Regions from separate parts of the Homo sapiens genome. Here all the other regions are linked to region 3. The links are contacts of gene promoters, found by promoter capture Hi-C in human tissues and cell types (Jung and others, 2019). All regions are on one chromosome and are shown on one strand. Each heading gives the region's core, a stretch centred on a gene start or on the middle of the fragment in contact. The rest is flanking DNA. Distances are from core to core; before and after follow the strand shown.

What was found. Contacts are between HindIII fragments. The study calls those that stand out against the background at their distance.
Region 1: a contact is called between the fragment with the promoter of RHOT2 here and a fragment that was not itself captured in region 3, in 4 of the 25 tissues and cell types used here (dorsolateral prefrontal cortex, lymphoblastoid cells, spleen and 1 more).
Region 2: the fragment with the promoter of UBE2I here is called in contact with a fragment that was not itself captured in region 3 in 1 of the 25 tissues and cell types used here (lymphoblastoid cells).
Region 4: a contact is called between the fragment with the promoter of CAPN15 here and a fragment that was not itself captured in region 3, in 1 of the 25 tissues and cell types used here (aorta).

Annotation. Positions count from the first base shown.
Region 1 is chr16:666,882-669,409 of GRCh38, reverse strand. It overlaps RHOT2 (ras homolog family member T2), which reads right to left and starts at 1,278. Exons shown (of 19, transcript NM_138769.3): 1 at 1,174-1,278; 2 at 999-1,057; 3 at 841-922; 4 at 711-754. The coding sequence starts at 1,210. WDR90 (WD repeat domain 90) reads right to left here. Exons shown (of 41, transcript NM_145294.5): 40 at 2,421-2,505; 41 at 1,580-1,978. The coding sequence ends at 1,821. RefSeq lists silencers at 811-900, 1,001-1,100, 1,161-1,500 and an enhancer at 886-1,567. The HindIII fragment of the contact is 52,780 bases long and covers 1-2,528 here.
Region 2 is chr16:1,307,810-1,311,134 of GRCh38, reverse strand. UBE2I (ubiquitin conjugating enzyme E2 I) reads right to left here and starts at 1,499. Exons shown (of 7, transcript NM_003345.5): 1 at 1,362-1,499. RefSeq lists enhancers at 378-989, 1,691-1,930 and silencers at 961-1,150, 1,351-1,650, 2,141-2,430. The HindIII fragment of the contact is 23,762 bases long and covers 1-3,325 here.
Region 3 is chr16:964,333-967,840 of GRCh38, reverse strand. The region is part of intron 1 of LMF1 (lipase maturation factor 1); the gene reads left to right. Among named protein-coding and RNA genes, the nearest start is that of LMF1, 4.9 kb to the left of the region's middle. The HindIII fragment of the contact is 3,168 bases long and covers 1-3,098 here.
Region 4 is chr16:526,031-529,708 of GRCh38, reverse strand. CAPN15 (calpain 15) reads right to left here and starts at 1,997. Exons shown (of 14, transcript NM_005632.3): 1 at 1,680-1,997. It overlaps LINC00235 (long intergenic non-protein coding RNA 235), which reads left to right and starts at 2,302. Exons shown (of 1, transcript NR_024121.1): 1 at 2,302-2,862. RefSeq lists an enhancer at 2,877-3,438. The HindIII fragment of the contact is 8,144 bases long and covers 1-3,022 here.

The sequences.
Region 1 (2,528 bases), core at 29-2,528, 300 kb after region 3:
AGCCTTCCCTAAAACCTGCCTCCAGCCTGGTGTTGGCAGAGCAGGCACTCCCCAGTGTCACACTGGGAGCTGCTGCTGAACCCTCAGAGAAGCCTCTTCCCCGCCCACTGCCAGTGCAGGGACACCAGGCCCCAGAAGCATAACTGTGGTCAGCAAGACCCTTGGAGCAGAGGGCTCAGGACAGACACGGCCACACCTGCAACCCAACACCCTGCAAGACAGCCGCCGCCTTGGCCCCTGCCTCCCCCCTCGCTACAGACAGAGTGACAGGACCGCAGTGAGGGGTGCCAACAGCAGGGGCTGCCCTGGGTGGCTGTGGCCTGTGCCCTTGCCTGGAGATGTCCCCGGCACACGTGCTCTGGTACTGGGAGCTCCGGGTGCCCGGAGGCCGGGACGGTGGGCTGGAGCACACAGCACGGGGACGTGGCGCACACAGAGCCCACAGGAAGAGCAAACGCTGCTGCCACCCCGGCAGGAGGGAGGGAGAGCCCGCGGGGAAGGGTCCTGTTATCCCTGGAGCACCACTGGACTGAGCGGTGCCGGCTCCCAGCGGGGTGCGCTGTAGGGGCCCCGACAACCCTCAGTGCGGAGGTCACAGAATTATCAGGGCCAAGGACACCCGGAGCACCTCGGTCCAATCCCCCAGGCTGCGAAGCGGATTAGGCCGAGCCCGCGCCCAGCCCCTCCCTCGTCCCGCGCACCACGGGTACCTTGTGGATCTCCTCCCGCAGCTCCTCGTCCGTCTGCTCGGCTTCTAGGGGGACAAAGAGACTCCACTGCGGACCCAGCAGGCCCGCCGGACCGCTGCGGGCCGGGCCCCCGGGAGGCTACGGCCGCTACCTGAGTAGTCCACGATGTGGGTGGGCACCTTCTCCGGGGTGACGTCCGCGGGGATGGTGATCTCCTCCGCGCGGGGAGGGACCTGCAAGGGACCCGCGCGCTCACCAGGGACCCCCGGCTGGGCCCGCTCCCACCCCCGCGGCGGGCGTGCCCCTTACCTCCTCGGGGAACTCCTCGCCCACCAGGGACAGGATCAGCGACGTCTTCCCCACCTGGGCTGCGCGGGGCGAGGCGGTCAGCGCGAGGGCCAAGGTCACGGCGCCCCCCGACCCCCGAGACCCTCACCCCGCCTCACGGCCGCCGCAGCTCCGAGACCCCCGGGCCGGCGCCTACCCTCGCCCAGTAACAGGATGCGCACGTCCCGCCTCATAGCTGCCGCCCGGAGCCGCTCCCCGACCCGGAACCCGGCCCCGACCTGGTCCTCAAGCCTTTCGCTCTGCCCCCGCGCCCGCCCCGCACTTCCGGTTCTCGGCCCCGCGCTGTCCCCACACTTCCGGCCCCGCCCGCACAGCCGCACCAGCGAGCCGGGCGGGCCAGAGCGGACAGGCTGTGCGGCGCGCCACCGTGTGGACGCGCCGGCCACGGCGGACAGCGCAGGGTCCTGGCGCCCTGGCAGGCCGAGCGGCCATTGCTTCACGGCACCACAGGGGCCTTGACAAACAGCCGATTAAGGGACGGGCAGAGGCTGAGCTCAGGCCAGGAGTGACCAGAGACAGCCAGTGCAACAATGCAGCAATAATGCAATAAATGCCCATGTTTATTACAAGATAGAAACATTAAAGATTTCTTAGGCAAAAGGGCAACAGGTATGAAAGTATTCACAGGGCGCCAAATTTACAACAGCTTGCTCCAGGCGATTTACGTGAATCCTGGCCTGTCCCAGCATGAGGCCATTGACAACCTGGCGCCTCTGCCAAGCCTGTGTCCAGGTGCCTGGCATGACCAGGCGTGATGCCCACCACCACAGTCCCTGCTGCATCTCAGAGGCCGGGGACCTCCCACACAAGGATCTCGTTGCGGGCGGCCGTGAAGAGCAGCCTGGCGGACGGTGTAAACCTGCACAGGTGCACTGCGTTGTCGTGGCCGGCAAAGTCTTGGGCAGTCCCCATGGCACAGTCTACCAGCCTCAGCATGCACTCTGTGGGTAGACGGTGCAGGTGGGCCAGGGCCAGGACCAGGCAGCACTCAGAGGGCTCCCCCAACCCACCCAGACTGTCCCCACTGGGCATGATGCTGGTCGGGGGAGCTGGTGCTAAAAGGGCTCCTGGCTGTGCCCTCCACGTGCCACTGGGACTAGGGGGTCCATCACTGCCAGGCTGTCGGCCTGCAGCTGGGCCAGTTCCCTCCTTAAAAGTCGCTGCCACCCGTGCATTCAGGCCCTGTGCTGGGCGCTGTGCCTGGTTCCTCACCTGCCTCATCATCTCCTGACTCCAGGACCCTCTCTAGGGCAGATGTCCTCACCCCACCCCAGAGACGAGGAGCCCGGGGCACAGGTGAGGCACCTGTCTTGGAACAGGGCACCAGTCAGCCCACTTGGCCCCCACCTAAGACAGGCCCAAACTGCATCCACCAGCACTCACCAGCAAAGCCAACAGCCAGGAGGTGGGTCCCGGGGGACAGGCTCAGGGACATGGCAAAAAAGGGCAGTGGTATCTTCTCCACCACCTGTGAGCAGCCAGCGTGAGGCT
Region 2 (3,325 bases), core at 250-2,749, 340 kb before region 3:
CTGCAGAAACGGGGACAGGGCCGGGCACTCCAGGAGCGGCCCGAAAGTCTGCCTTCTGTCCTCCTGCTGGGCGCCCGCAACCGGCTGAGCTTTAGCTTCTCGGATCACCGCCTTGCTCTGCTGGTTGACAGCACCGACTTCAGAGCAACTTCCTGGCTGAGGGTGAGCAAAGCACTCACCTCCCACAACTCCACCGCACTGATCTCCACAACGGGTGGTCGCCACGACAGGCTGGCACAAGAAGCCTTTAAAGGCCCTCCTGCACCCAAATGCAAACTCTCCCAGGCTTGGGGAGGTATTCCCTTCTGCAAGACCCAAGCACCTGCAGTCGGGAGACGCTTACCTGGCCGCACCTGATCTGCCCCAGGCCCCGAGAATGTTTCTGAAGCAAGATCCCAAACCCTGAGACACCATACAAGCGCACACCAGCAATCACCCAGTGGCCTAGGGAACGGACCTCTCTGAATGAGCAATCAGGGCAAACTGAGGATCCGTCCCGTCTTCCGTTGCATAGGTTCTCTACCCAAAGGCAACGTTTCTTGAAGAGCAAGAAACACTTGGGGTAGGTCCTGTAAAAGGAAACAAACCGAACTCCCCAAAGACAGGCACTTTGCAAACAGAGAAACTAAGCGTAACTTCCAATTATACAAACAAAACCACTTCATTCTGCGATTCAAGCGTGACTACAGGCCACGATCACAAGCCCAACTAATCATTCCCTTACATTCCTCCTACGCACGTTAACTACCAGAACCAACTACTATTCAACCGATAAAAAGAGATGTCCAAAACAGAATAAAACTCCCCCTCCAGCGAGGCGCTCACGTTCAGGGCCCCAGCAAGCGCCAGCGGAGCATCTTCAGAGGCACAAGAAAACTTACACTTGTTTTGGTTTTAAGGCACCGAAAACAAGCCCGCTCGCCGGCCCCCACCCCCGCGAGCCAGCGATGTTGCAATCCAAGACTCTCCCCCCGCGGCCCATCCTATCCGTCCGCGGGGCGACCGTGACCCCGGAAGCCGCTCCCCGCGCAGGAGGAAGGCGCGGCCTCGCGGGGCCCCGGCTGCAGGTGGCTGCCCCGGCCCCGCGCCAGGCGCACCTCGGGGGCGAAGTGGGGGAGCCCCGGCCCCGAAGGCCTGCGGCGGCCCGGCCGCTCGGGCCGCAGCCCAGCGGCGCCAGCAGCGCGGACCGAGCCGGCGCCGAGCGCGGGGCCTCTCGGGCTCCCCGGAAAGCTCGGCCGCGGCGCGGGGCCCGGCTCGGCGGGGCGGGGCGCGGGGCAGTCGGGGGCCCGGGCCCAACAGGAGTAGAGGCCTCGGCCCGACCCCCGCCCCGCGGCCCCGGCCCGGCCCCCGCACGCGCTCACCTCGGGCGGCCGCAGCCCCGGCGAGCGTAGCGGACAGGTGGAGGACCGAGCGGGGCGGCGGCGGCGGCGCTTCCCTTTGTCTCGGGACTTCCCTCCGGAGCCCGCTCCGCGCGCAGCCAGAGCAGCTCCGAGGACCCTGGCGCGGGCGGGGCGCGCGGGGCGGGGCCTAACGCGGGGCTGCCCTCTGCACGCCTGCCTCGCGCGCCGCTCCTGCCGCCCGGCCCCGAGCGCCTCCCGCGCCGCCGAGCGCTCCCCGTTGCCCGCGCCCCGCCGCCGCGCGCCCGCGCCCCGGGTCCGCCCCAGGAGCCCGGCCGGGGGGCGACTTTCCAGTCAGGCGGCGCCCTGGACACCTACGCCCTTAAAGGAGCCGCGTCCCCGATGTGAGGGAGCGTCTGTAAACTCCCCTTCGGGCTGCCCGCGTCCACCCGAGGACACGCCGGCAAGCAGCGGGGGAAAAAGGAAGCCGAGATCTCCAAAGGCTCCCCGGATGCCTGGCGGTCACCTCTCCAGCCACAGGTCCCGGAGGTTTCCTTGGGGTCAGGTCCTGGGGCCGGGGGTCAAAGACCACTGAGGCCTAAGGATCCTCTGAAGCGTCGCAGGACGGTGACGCTCCCGCGAGTTCAGCGCCCTGTGAAACCCCTTGCAATTGGCCAGTTCGGGGCGGTAGGCGGGGACACCTTCTCATCCGCCCAATGAGCTGACCCCGTACAAAAGGCCGAATGCGAGCATGACCGACGGGAGGAGAAGTGTGGATGCTCCCTAAACCGGGGGCTGGCCCTGGGCCGGGGCGCGGGCGGGACGTGGGGGACCGCGAGCGGCGGGGGCGGGGCGAGCCCGTGGGGGAGGGGCGCTTCCGGTCCCCCCTCCCGCCCACGCAACAAGCAGGACCGGGTCGGGAGGCCCCCAGACCCGCGAGCGCGCGGGACAGTCCGTTCGCCAACGCGCGACCGTGCTGGCCCCCGGGCTCTCCCGGCCCCCCCGCCCGCATTTCGCCGACGGCGGGGCCGCAGCCAAGGTCACGGTGTCCGGGTGCTTGGGGACCGCGGGGAGTGACCACATTCATTCATTCCCTCCCTCACTCATTCATTCATTCCCTCCCCTACTCCGTCATTCCCTCCCTCACTCACTAATTCCCTCCCTCCCTCACTAATTCCCTCCCTCCCTCATTCATTCGATCCCTCCATCACTCAATCATTCCTTCCCTCTCTCACGCATTCCCTCCCTCACTTACTCATTCATTGCCACCCTCACTCACTCATTCCCTCCCTCACTTACTCATTCATTCCCACTCACTCATTCCCTCCCTCACTCACTCATTCCCTCCCTCACTCATTCCCTCCCTCACTCACTCATTCCCTCCCTCACTCATTCCCTCCCTCACTCATTCATTCCCTCCCTCACTCACTCATTCTCACTCTCACTCATTCCCGCCCTCATTCATTCATTCCCGCCCTCATTCATTCATTCCCACCCTCATTCATTCCTTCCCTCCCTCACTCATTCCCTCTCTCATTCATTCCCTCCCTCCCTCACTCACTCATTCCCTCCCTCACTGATTCCCTCCCTCACTGATTCATTCATTCCCTCCATCACTCATTCATTCCTTCCCTCACTCATTCCCTCCCTCACTCATTTCCTCTCTCATTCATTCATTCCCTCCCTCCCTCACTCATTCCCACTCTCACAAACTCATTCCCTCCCTCACTTACTCATTCCTCCCTCATTCATTCCCTCCCTCATTCGTTCATTCCCTCCCTCATTCATTCATTCCCTCCCTCCCTCATTCCCTCCCTCCCTCATTCATTCATTCCCTCCCTCATTCATTCATTCCCTCCCTCATTCATTCCCACCCTCCCTCATTCATTCCCTGCCTCCCTCACTCATTCCCTCCCTCACTCATTCATTCCCTCCCTCCCTCACTGATTCTCTCCCTTATTCATTCCATCCCTCACTCATTCCCTTCC
Region 3 (3,508 bases), core at 265-2,764:
AGCAGGGTCAGCCACTGGCCCGGCTGTGCAGCGATTGTCCGTAGGCCCTGGAGTTCAGCCCTGCCCTTCATTCACGCCACTGTGCAGCCTGCGTATCCTGGACACCCGGTTCACATCTGGGCAGCGGCGTTCTCGGGCCGTGACGGCTCCTGGGAGGACCGAGGCTGCCCGAGGTGGTCGGGGATGCCTGACACTGACACTGAGCTTCCCCTCAGCACAGATGTCACTCCCAGGAATGGCTGAAATCTGGACGAGTAAAAGCTTATGTGACAGGAGTTTCCGGCCTAAGCAGCGGGACCTGGGTGCCATGTTCTTGGTGTGTAGGGGCAGTGCCGGCCGCCCATGGGTGCCGGTGCCTCCTGCAGTCAGGCCTGCTGCTGTCTGTGTGCGCAATAAGGAAACCGAACCCAAGAGTGGGCACCATGCCCAGGCTCACCGGAACAGAGGGCAGAGCAGCCTGGCCAGAATCCCTCACTGTTTTATGGCAGGAACCCCCAGGGTCGTGCGTCGACGTTGTGGCCCGGCGTTCCCTGCGGAAGATTGAGGCCCTCACTGGTCAACCCTGCAGTACGGGGGCGTGTGTGGCAAACAGCTGGTCTGGAGCCTCGTCAGCCAGGCCGGCTCCTTGATGCTTTGAAATCCCCCTCCCAGGGGGCCTGGCCAGGTCCGTCCATGGGCGGCCACAGGCAGCTGGGGCTGGACTCCTGGAATTTCCAGCAGCCCTGTGTCTGTTACAGCGCCAGTGGTAGAGCTGGATTCCCTGACAAGACGGGGGAAGGACAGCCTTGCAGGTGCTACTGAAGACACCCTAGGCTAGAGCTGCCCACCCTGGGTGGGTTCTCCTGGACTGAACTGACGTTGGTTTGCTATTGATGAGAGTCACATAGTATATGTACACAATGCATTTTAACTGCCTCAGAATTAAGGTGTTATCTGGAAACAGTGTAATTACAGTTGGTCAGAATTGGGTTGATAGCAGTTCACTGCAGAGAACTTTCTGGAAGCTGTGACAGGTGGAAGTAGTGGGGCTCAGGGTTGGTGGGCCACACCTTAGCTGTGTGGCCTTGGCCAAGTTGCTCATCAAGACCTTCCTGTCACTGATGAGGTGAGAGTGACCGCTGGGCCGTCCTGAGGCTGACATGGGATTCCTTGCCTGTGCACACTTCCCAGAAGGCGGACCAAGGACACACCCGCCTGGGAGACGGCTCGCAGGCAGCCACGGAGTATATATATCTGAACGTCGGAAAGGACCTTTCCTTTGAAGCTCAAACATTTATGAGATATTGTTACAATTCGGAAGGGATCTGTAGGTGAAATGTGACATGAAGACTGGGTAACGTTGGCATTTGCAGACTGACTTTATGTGTGGCACTTTTCGTGGGTGCCATGGCGTCGGCGCAGAGACACTCCTGAGGGATTTCGTCTGTCGGTCCATGTGTTTGTGGGGGCCGAGTCCTGGACAGGCCTAGGAGGGAACCGCCCCGGCCAGGGCCGGCTGCTCGGCGCCTGCACAGGGCATGAGTGCTGGGGGCTTTGGGACACACGCTCCCTGCTGCCTCTGGGGCAGATGTCCACCTGCACTGCTTGCAGTGAGAGGCTGGGGCCCCAGTGGACGAGCCGTGGTGCCTGAACTGCTCCCGCTGTGTCCCCGCCACGTGAGGCATCTCTTCCTGACCGTGGTCCTGAGACCACCTGGCCTCTGCCTTCCCAGGGTTAACTGTACTTGTTCTCTCCGTGGCTGCCGACACCCTTCTGGCCTTCAGACTTAGCCCTCATCACTCGTGGACTCCTGACCCCACCCAGGGCTGACCACCGGAGCCCTGCTCTCTGCTTCCTTTGCGGCTGATATTGTCCCCATTCCAGTGTTGTTCTTGTGCCTGTCTCCCCTCTAGCTCCTTGCAGTCAGGGAGAGGACTTTCTTTATACCTCTATCCCTTGTCTTCTAGGGGCATCTCCTGCTCAGTGAAATGTGCTGACCCGTAGCAGGTGGTCTCTACCAGGGCTTAGTGTCAGCATGGGACACTTTTCCAGCCATTACCCCTTCTTTCCCCTCTACCCACCTCCAGCCCCGAGGTGCGGCCCAGCAGGACAGATACTGCCACAGCCCTCCCTTGGTTGTGTTCATACTTCCTGGGCTGCTCATGCCTTCCTGTTTGCTGGTGGATTCTCTTTTTGCTGGAGTGTATCCCCAAGCAGCTTTTCCAGAAAGGACCAACTTGCCCGGATCTCTAATTCTCCATCAAAGCCACTTTCCCTCAGAGCTTTGCAGCATTGAGGAGGCATCTTCAAGCATCTGACTCTTCTTCTCCCTGGAAGCTTCTAAAGTCTCAGTGCCTTGCCCTCCTGCTCTCCACCTTTGCTCTCTGTTCTGGTTATTTATCGAGGAGTCTCTGAGGCTCTTTTTTTTGCTCTCTTGTAGTGGCCTTGGTGAGCTCTTCAGCCTCAAGGCTTGTCCTTGGCTCTGGATGAGGCTCTTCTGGCCTCTCCCCAATCTGCCCATGTGTTCCAAACACCGCATGCCCCAGCTGGGTTCCAAACAGGGCGGGTGGGGGCCACTCTCCTGTCTAGCTTCGTAGCGTGGGCTGAAACCTGGGAAAGTCTCTCCATGAAGCTGAATGGAGAAGAACATGGCTTCCGCGAGGCCCTAGGAGCCAAGCACCACACAGAACCCACCGCTTGGCTGTGATCCCGAGTGACGGGGACAGCCTGGACTGCAGAAGGAATGCCCAACGCTGGCGGGAACGGAGGGGCTTTTCTTGCTCGTCTTTCCAGTTCCACATTGTCACATTGGAGTCCTGGGCTCACTGAGATTATGTTGAAAATCCGACCTCTAGGGGATCTCCATGCTAGTTTTGTCCTTTAGGCGTGGAGGCATGCGTGCCGCACTGTGGCGTCTGTTCTGTGCGCCTGCTCACCGCCCTTCCTTCTTTTCCGCGTGGGGCAGTTTTATCGCGTCTCCCCGGCAGCTGCTTCGGCGAGGTGGGGCCGCGGTGCCATTGGTAGCGTGTCTCTGAGTCTCACCGCAGCCCTTGTAGCTTGGCATCCTCGTCAGATGACACCCGAGGCAGGGTTGACGTGGCAGGCAGAATCGTTTGCACCCGTATTTGCTAAACTCTCAGCTGTTCTTCAGAAAATTTGAGGAGAAAATGAAACCAAAAAGAATACTTGAAACCCTGCTCAGTTGGTTTTGTTCTGAGCTTTCAGTGGCTCTAAGAGCTCATGGGAAATGAGTTCTTTTTCTTTTCTCCGGGCCACTTGAGTTCTAATGAAATGCACCACTTGGTTTTACAAGTTCTTCTATAAAATACTTGCTTGTTTAAAAAGCAAACAGCACTGCCCTACTTCGGAGCTCTGCAGCACATCCCTTAAAGAAAAAATACTTGAGGTCACTGTGCTGAGGCCCAGAATTTAACCACGGCCAGTAAGAACCATCAACAGAGAACGGCATTTCTGGGATGACTGTTTTAATCTTACAACAATTTATCTGAAAGGAGAAAAGAGAAAGCTG
Region 4 (3,678 bases), core at 748-3,247, 440 kb after region 3:
ACCTGTCCACGCCTGTTGCCATGAGTAGAGGCATCACACCGCGGGCCAGAGGGCTGGACCAGGGGCAACTCGGCCACCAACGGCCGAGTTCTTCACTGAGCGGCTCAGGCCCATGAACAACACCTGTGGTTCCGGAGGATTTTCCGGGCAGCAGAATCCTTCCCTCCAATTGCCTCGTGTGAACTGGTGGAACCAGCAGGAGGGAGAGACCAGGCGCTCAGCCTCCCTCGGCCCCTCCCCTGCCATGAACAGCTGTCTCCAGCTTCGGTTCCTCACCTGTGGCACTGGGGTTACCGGAGTGCTGCCCAAGGCCAGGGCAAGAAGCAAGTGAGGGGTGCCCGGAGAGAGAGCCAGCAGGGCTTGAGGCTGTCACACAGATGCAGCATTACAGGGGACCAGCCACTTCCTGCTCTCAGAGACCACGGTCTGTGGAGGCCCAGACAAGAGGCCCTGCGCAGTTATGCAGTTACTGAGCCTCGGGCTCTCCTGGGGACTCAGAGGTCACTGGCTCCTCTGCCAATCAAGGAGCTCTGGAGAGCCTCAGACACAGACAGAAGCAGGAAAAAGAGGGGTGCTCCTCCCGCAAGCAGAAGGACCTCGGAGGAGGCAAGGCACACCCAACCCAAGGCCAGGCCAAGCTGGTTTCCTGCAGGACCTGCCTCCCCCAGACAGGCCAGAAAAACAATTTCTCTTGCCCCACTTCACAGTTGAGAAGTCACTCAGAACCGGAAGGGAGAATCACCCCTATATCCTTGCCCAGCCCCAGACTCTGGAAACGCGGAGGCAATTACGGGGCACTCCCACACTGAACTGTGACTCACGTTTCCGCACCCCTCAGACCTGGGCAGAGGAAGAGATCCGGGTTTCCCGAAGGAGAAGCACACAACTCTTCAGCACCCAACGGAGTCCCAGTCTTCCCCACTGGCCCCACACACCCAGGCCTGGCCTCAGGTTCTGGGCCTCACCATTGCTTTCCGGGTCTTGTTACCTGCAGTCCGGTAACAAACTCCAGAGCAGTAAGGGGGCCCCGAGAGCTCGCCCGGCCAGGGCCAGCTGACCACACAAGAGTTCCCCCGGTCAGGACTAGAGGGGCCCCTTCTGCAGCCAGCGGGAGGACAGCAGATTTGCAACTTCCCAGCTGGTGCCGCAGCAGCCCCAGAGGAACACGGAAGAGAACACTGGCATGGCTGGCACAGACGGGGCTCCCGCCAGCCCCTCCACGCCAGGTGGCCGCCCCCAGGCCGTTCCCCAAGTGAGGGGAGTGATGCCCGCACCAAGCACAACATCCCTAAGGCGGCCAGGACCGCACGATGGGCCCGGATATAAGGGCACTCAAGGGCAGGCAGGGCCGAGGCCGCCTCCGGTGTGCGCGGCCCCCGGGGCTGGCCTCAAGTGACCCACATGGCCCAGGTCCCTGCCGACTTCCCGCCTTCCTCTGGGTTCCTCTGCGAAGCATCGCCCAGCCCTGGCCCCCACCAGCCTGGAGGCGCCAGCGGGCGGCGGGCTGACCCCACTCCGGGGGCCCTGCCGTCCCTGCCCTGGCTCGGAGCCCGGCGCGCCCGGCCCCCGAGGCCTCCTGCGCCCCGCCGAGCCCGCGCTCCCCGCCGCCCTCCGGGCCCGCGCTCCCCGCCCGGGGTCCCCGGCTGGGCGCCCGGCCGGGCCCGGCCGACGGGACTCACCTCCACAGCCCGGCGGCGCCGCCTCGTCCTCGCGGCCCGGGCAGCGCGGCCCCGGCCCCCGGGCCCGCTCGCCCCCGCCGGCCGATCCACAACTTCTGCCTCCGGAGAGCGGCGGGGCCCCTCTCGCCGCCGGCCGCGCTGCCCGGACGGCCTCCCGCTCCTCAGCCGCGGGGCGCCCCGACCCGGCTCCGGCCCCGGCCCCTGCCCGCGTCCGGCGCCCGCCTTACGCTGCCTTCGTAGCGTAGCGCCCGGCCCGGGCCCCGCGGCTACGGCGCGCCCGGGGCGCACGCGGCGCTGTGAATCGCGCGCCCGGACTACGGCTCCCACAGGGCTGCGCGGCGCCGACGGGGCGGAAGCTCGGGGCGGTGCCTGCGCGAGGCAGGCCGGGAGTTGTAGTCCTCGGGTGGCGCCCTCCCAGTCCGCCGACCGCCCGGGCCACTTCTCCTGCCCTCGCTGCTGGAGACGGCCGGGCCCGAGGCCTCGGTCCCCGGGAGGCGCCGCGCTCCAGGATTATCAGGGAGTGGGGCGGCCCGAGGAGGAGCTGGAACTACAACTCCCAGAGGGCCTTGCGAGGGGCACGGAGGGGCGGGGCCTGCAGCCGCGGCGTCTGCGCATCAGCGGCGTCACAGACGCGTGGGGCTCGCGGGGAGCCGGGCTGGGGCCGTCCGTGTCCCGCGGGGCTCTGGGCGGCCGCTCGACCGAGGACCCACGACTCCGCCCCGACCCCGCCGTGTTCGCGAGACCCGGAGACCCCTTCGCGCCTTCCAGGACCGCCCCTTTCGCGACGCTGCGTGCTGTGCTTGGTCCTGGCGGCCAAGAGCGGCGGTGGCAAGGGGACCGCCCTGGCCCGAGACGCGGCCTGGCCTCGCAGCGTCGCTTGGGCACAGCCTCTCTAGGCCCCTTCGTCCTCGGTCGCGGAGGGACGCCATTAAACGGCCACGCCGGGCTCAACTGGGACGCGGCCCACGGCGCCCAACCAGGGCCTGGGGGAGGGAAGCCGGGGCGACTCCTGGGTCCTTCCAGGACCCTTGCGCAGGCCTCATTCTCTCCCCGGAGGTCCCCTTCCCGCTGCCCTGAGGCCACTCTCCTGCCAGCAGCTGCTGGGCCGGCTCTCGGGAGAATGCCTTGGCGTCAAGCTTATCAGGCTGCAGGGCGGGACGCGAGTGCTGAGGGCAGCCAGACTCCCGCTCTTAGGTGCACTTGAGGAGCCTGAGAAGGCAGTGGCTCTGCGGGAGAGGGAGACACAGGAGCAGGGCTGGTCCGCCGAGATTCCGGAGAGACGGTTGTGGGCCGATTCTGTGGCGAGATTTACAAGTGGGAGGTTGGGTGACGATTGCTCCTGGGCCAGAAAATCTAAGCCAGTCTCAGCAAGACCTACAAGGCCAGGGCCAGTGCTCCTCAGAGGATATTCATGCTCCAGGAAAGCCAAGGATGGGCCTCCGTCATGCTGAGATGCCGCAGCAGGGACACCTGTGTCCCACGTGGAGCTCGGCTTCTAGCTGCAGTCAGTGCAGAAGCTGGCAGGAGGGGTTTATTTCTGTCCTCGGAAGCTTTTGGTAAGGACACTTCATTCCTGTGTCTTGGACACCTCCCCCTAGGTCTGCTGCCCCCTCTGTGGAGACAGGCAGGGCAGCTGGATGTGCCGTTTGTTCCCAGACTATATCCATGCCAAAGCATCCCAAGGGCAGGAAATGTGTCCCCGGGGGCCAGTGGGGGTCTGGGGGCACAGAGGGCTGCAGAGTGAGAGCTGGCTCTCCTCTCTGCAACTTGGACAAGGCTCTGGGACCCTGTCCTCCCCAGCTTCCTCACCTGCATGGCAGGATACTGGCCAAGTGTGGCTTTCGAACCACAGGAGAGGGTGCAGTCAAGGCCTCACTCAGGGACCGCAGGTTCTCTTCCCTTCCCAGTCCTTCCCTGGCACTGCCTAGGTGGCTCCCTGGCCAGGGGCCAGTGGTCTAGCCAGCAGGCCTTATAACCTCCCCACCAGAGAGGCAGCTGC